2 separate regions of the Homo sapiens genome follow, and region 1 is linked to region 2. The links are contacts of gene promoters, found by promoter capture Hi-C in human tissues and cell types (Jung and others, 2019). All regions are on one chromosome and are shown on one strand. Each heading gives the region's core, a stretch centred on a gene start or on the middle of the fragment in contact. The rest is flanking DNA. Distances are from core to core; before and after follow the strand shown. Region 1 overlaps TUT7 (terminal uridylyl transferase 7). Region 2 holds the start of GOLM1 (golgi membrane protein 1).

What was found. Contacts are between HindIII fragments. The study calls those that stand out against the background at their distance.
Region 1: a fragment that was not itself captured here is called in contact with the fragment with the promoter of GOLM1 in region 2 in 1 of the 25 tissues and cell types used here (H1 embryonic stem cells).

The regions. Positions count from the first base shown.
Region 1 is chr9:86,319,863-86,322,562 of GRCh38, reverse strand. It overlaps TUT7 (terminal uridylyl transferase 7), which reads left to right. Exons shown (of 27, transcript NM_024617.4): 14 at 88-238. Among named protein-coding and RNA genes, the nearest start is that of TUT7, 33 kb to the left of the region's middle. The HindIII fragment of the contact is 3,462 bases long and covers 1-2,700 here.
Region 2 is chr9:86,098,208-86,100,907 of GRCh38, reverse strand. It overlaps GOLM1 (golgi membrane protein 1), which reads left to right and starts at 1,350. Exons shown (of 10, transcript NM_016548.4): 1 at 1,350-1,497. RefSeq lists silencers at 1,139-1,458, 1,469-1,568, 1,729-1,778 and an enhancer at 1,409-1,909. The HindIII fragment of the contact is 18,007 bases long and covers 1-2,700 here.

The sequences.
Region 1 (2,700 bases), core at 24-2,523, 220 kb before region 2:
ACTGTGTACTTTTAAAACATGATTCCAGACTCCTTTATTTGGCAAATAAAGTGTTAAGTCTTGTTTTGCTTTGCCATATTCCTGCAGTCTCCTACGGTAGTGTGCAGCTTATGCAAACGAGAGGGTCATCTAAAGAAGGACTGTCCTGAAGACTTCAAAAGAATCCAGCTAGAACCTCTGCCACCATTAACACCCAAGTTTTTAAATATCTTAGATCAAGTCTGTATCCAGTGTTATAGTAAGTTATTCACATTTCTTTTGATTTGTCAAAATATTAAATTGACATTTACTCGAGTCTTTAGAATCACTATCCTATTTAGGTCTCTAAACATTATTAGGGACCAAGTCTATTCCATTCTCCATTGTATCCTCAAGCGTTCCATGTCATGTCTGTTCTGTTTGGGACATGCAATAAATGTCAAAGAAGGATGAGGAGAGATGCAGGGAGGATCTTTTTTATTTAAAAAAAAATTTTTTTTTAAATTTTGAGACAGGATCTCATTCTGTCACCCAGACTGGAGTGTAGCAGAGCAATCATGAGTCACTGCAGCCTCGACCTCCCAGACTAAAGCAATCCTCTCACCTCAGCCTCCCAAGTAGCTGGGAGCACAGATGCATGCCACTATGCCTGACTAAATTTTTCATTATTTGTAGAGACACAGTTTCCCTGTGTTACCCAAGCTAGTCTTGAACTCCTGGGCTCAGGCAAATGGAGGATCTTTTATTTTTCTTTTAATATCAAGTGCCTTCTGTACTTCCTTTTATTAACAGCATAGTTGTTGCATCAAGATACATAGCAATCATAGCAGGTTTCCTTTTTTGGAGGGTGATGGTGAGACAGGGTCTTGCTCGGTCCCCCAGGCTGGAATGCAGTGGCGCAATATCAGCTCTCCACAGCCTCTAACTCCTGGACTCAAGCAATTCTTCTGCCTCAACCACCCAAGTAGCTGGTATTACAGGCATGCATCACCACACCCAGCTCATTCTTATATTTTTTGTAGATACAGGGTTTCACCACGTTGGCCAGGCTGGTCTCAAACTCCTGACCTCAAGTGATTCATCCAACTGAGTCTCCGAAAGAGCTGGGATTACAGGCTTGAGCCATGGCGCCTGGCCAGCAGGTTTCTTTTTAAAGCTTAGTATTAAATATCTTTCCCCATTTAAATTTTCCATTACTCTGCCAAGAAAAAAAATTTTTTTTTTTTTGAGACAAAGTCTAGCTCTGTCACCCAGGCTGGAGTGCAGTGGTGCGATCTCAGCTCACTGCAACCTCCACCTCCTGGGTTCAAGCAATTCTCCTGCCTCAGCCTCCTGAGTAGCTGGAATTACAGTCATGCACCACCATGTCCAGCTAATTTTTTTTTTTTTTTTTAGTAGAGATGGGGTTTCACCATATTGGCCAGGCAAGTCTCAAACTCCTGACCTCCAGTGATCCGCTCGCCTTGACCTCCCAAAGTGCTGGGATTACAGGCGTGAGCCACCGCTCCCGGCCAAAAATTAAAATTCAAGTTACTTGAAGCCTGGACACACTTCCCTGGCTAGCTGGGCTATGTAAAGGTTGGTGGTGTTATTCTTCCTGCTGTGTAAGCAGATCCAGGCCCCAGAAAGAAGGGACCAGGTTATATAATTGTTTTTGAAAAGTTTGCTACAAAAATGCATGGCCTGTTATAAGCCAGGATACAAAGTAAGGATGAGGGTAAGGGAGCGACATTTTTTTCCAGAAGAAAGATATTTTCTGAAGAGTCTCAGTTCATAATTTTCCCAAAATCGTTGGAAGAGAGGGTAAAATCTCAATATGAATTTCAAAGTACTGTCTCTGTGAGGGGCCGAAAGTTGCCTTGCTGAGGATCTTTTATTAAGTCTTAAAATTAGAGTAGTAGCATTTCCCAGCTGGCATTCTTTGAAATGTTTTTCTAGATGGCAGTTAATAATATTTCATCACCAGAAGTATACCTAGGCCAGCGAGGGAATAACACTACACACTCCCTTCTCTCTTAGAATTCCTGGGTTATTTCCAGGACATATTAGCATATTGAAGGTATCTGAGAAATATTATTTCTAAAATTTGAACATAGAATAATTTTTGAGTAACGCTAATTAATAGCCTACTTAACAGCCCTTTAAGGAACACAAATTTGGGGAAGCATTGGTGTAGAGAGCCTTAAAGTTTTACAAAAGAAAATATTTAAAGGATAGATGTTCAGCTGCTTAAAATGAAGGAACTTGTTTCACATGGCTTCATCATAAGGTGTTCATCCGTGTCAGAAGACACGTGTTCTTAACAAGTCCTTTTTTTTTTTTTTTTGGGAAATTTTTTTTTTTTATATTATGAGCTATTAAAAAAACTAGGTTCTCCTTAGGGAAAAAAATACATGCAAATGCTCACAAACTTTTAAATTCACACTTTAGCGGGGTGGTGATTTCTGAAGGCCCTTTCTGTAACCCTGGTGTCTTTCAGGAAACCCAGGTGGAGATCCCATGTTTAAATTACTTTCCGTTTCAAGAGCACTTCTTAGATTCTTTAAAAAAGGACATCTTAAATTTTACATTACTGTTACAAAAATTAGCCAGGCATGGTGGTACATGCCTATAGTCCCAGCTACTCGGGAGGCTGAGGTGGGAAGATGGCTTGAGCCTGGGAGGCAGAGGTTGCAGTAAGCTAAGATCACACTACTGCACTGCAGCCTGGCCGACAGAACC
Region 2 (2,700 bases), core at 101-2,600:
TGCAAAACCAGGGCTGACATCTGATACAGCCTCAGCTTCTGAATGCTTTGGTCTGACCCTACAACAGTTTAACAGTTGCAGATAACAAAAATATCATTTTGGAATATAGTAGAACATTCCTCTAAAGGGGTCATGTATGGTCAGCTTCTAATTCAGCTAAGAGGTTTTAGCTGGTAAAGATACGTTTCCTGCAGTTAAGAAGCTCCATGCTCAGGTAGCAATAGGGTATCTTGATCACCTTTTTTAAGGTGACTCTTTGTTCTGGTTAAAATCAATTTCAGCTGTGAGCATTCCTTTAGGTGTTCATGTATTTACTTGTTTTTTTATTGTGATTTGAGAGAGGCGCAGAGGAAGGAGTTTCCTTTCCCAGACACCAGAGCTAGGAAGACATGAAGACATGATTCTAGGAAAACTGTTCTCAATCTTGGCCGTATACTGTATTAGGATTATCTGGGAAGCTCAAAACAAACAAAAAATATCAAGTTCACTTTGAACTCTGGAAGTGGGACCCTGGTTCCTAAATGCTCTAAAAGCTCCCCAAATAATTCTAATGGATGGCAGGTGCTGCCAGAGTTAAGAACCATTGCTTTAGAATTTTCTAGCATGGTTTCCCTGTAGGTCACTAGTTTTGTGGCATTCTCTCCGGGAGGTACGGCCTCATAGGGCTTCTCAAACATCAGTGCGCCTGAGCGTCATCTGAGGCGCTGTTTCAAATGCAGCTGCCCGGGCTATAAGATCACACCCGAAGGCGTCCGGGAATCTTCACTTTTTCCGTTGCTAGCAGTGGAAGGGTCACAGACCAAACACTAAGGCCTGAGCGGTGACAACCGAGGCGAGATGATGGTCAACAGGGAATGCCTCGTGGGAGAAAAAAGACAATTTTGTGAGTATAAGCCCCCTAAAAACCTGTTTTTCGTTCGCTTCCTTCTCTGGGCAGTTTTGACCCGACGACTTTTATAAAGAAGGTAACGTGAGTGTGGCGCTGGGTGCGGTTGGCTGTTCGGGAACATTCCCTCGGGGCGGAACGTGGGATGGGGGCTCCCCCCAGGTACCCTTTCCCCACAGCCGCTTCCCCGCTCCGCGTCGCTGCTCAGGCGCCAGCTCCCGCGTCGGAAGGGGCGATGGGGTGGCCCGGGGGAAGGGGCAACGCCCAGCGGCGAGAACTGGGCGCACGCTGGCGTTCCTGCTCCCGCCGAGGGGCGGCCACCGGCCGGGGCGCGCGCACCGTGGGGCCGGGAGTCCGCGCGGCCCCGGCAGCCCCTGCCTCGCTTCTCCGCGCTCGCGGCGCCGCCTCCTCCCTTCGCGCCGCCGGCGCTGCTCGGGGGCGGGGCCTTGCCGCTGCGGAGGCCGGAGACGCGGCGGCGCTGGACGCGGAGGCGCTGGGCGCACGGCGCGGAGCCGGCCGGAGCTCGAGGCCGGCGGCGGCGGGAGAGCGACCCGGGCGGCCTCGTAGCGGGGCCCCGGATCCCCGAGTGGCGGCCGGAGCCTCGAAAAGAGGTGAGTGGGCGGCGCGCGGCCCCAGGCTGCCCGAACCGCGGTCCATCGCTTCCTCCCTCCTTTGCCCAGGGCCCGTACCCCGCGCGCCGAGACCTCGCGTCGGTCCCCGGAGCCTCCCCGCGGCTTGCGCCGGGGCTGCAACCTTCGCTGGCTGCGCTCGGGGCTGGCTCCGCACCTTCCTGCACCGAGTAGCCCGCGGCTGCCTGGGCCCCTCGGCTCGCTCCCCAAGACCGGGCGCGCGGCCCCCTTGCCCTGCGATGAGGGGCCTCGCGAGGATTCCCTGCCCTGCAGTCTCAGGCGATGCGGGGCCTGTCTTTTTGTTCTGAGCTTTGTCACGCGCGTCGGCATCCAAAGTCAAAAGCGTGCACCCCCTAAGTCGCACTAGTTCCAGTTCTGCAGCGTGATTTGCACCAGGCGCGGGAGGCTGGCCGAGCCGCGAGTCTCTCGGCTCCCGCCGCCTCTTCCTCCCCTCCAGCCCCAGGCGCGCTCCGGCCGCCCTGGGGTCCACGTTGCCGCTGGGCCTCGTGGCTGGTGACCCCGGAGCTTGGGCTCCGGGTCCTCCCGCCGCGCGTCCAGAGCGCGGCTGCATCCCGTTCTCGTGGATGCTCGGGGTTTTCTCGCATACCTGTGTTTCCACCTTTGCCAACGTGGAGGATCCACACAACTTTGCCCTGCTGTAAAAATCATATCCCATTTAATATTTTTAATGATTTGCTTTTAAGAAACAAAATGTGAAGAATAACAATTTTGATGAAATTTTTTAGCAAAATTTAAGAATTATTATATTTGAAATACCATGATGATGCTGGACAATTTCAGATGTCCCATAGCCAGATTTGCAAAACTAAACTTGTGTGACTTTCACGATTTTGAGGTTTTCTTTGTCTGATTTGGGGTCCCTAGGCCCTACATTATGCACATTATTGAGGAACATTTCTAGGGCTGGATTAGTGAGATACACAATAACCTGATGAAGTATTTAGCAGCGCTTGAGTGGCTTTGTTTAGCTCATGGCCATCAGGTTGGCTCAAATCTCAGTTTTAGTATTTCTGAATTTTGGAGGGCATGGGACAATCTCTTGTCAGTTTTTGTGGGTCTCCAAAGGCATCCTAGCTTCTTCCAGTTGTGTTATAAAAGATGAAGCTAAGCTCATTACTTTCTTTCTTAATAGAAACTAGTAACTTGCTAAGACTTACTGTTTTT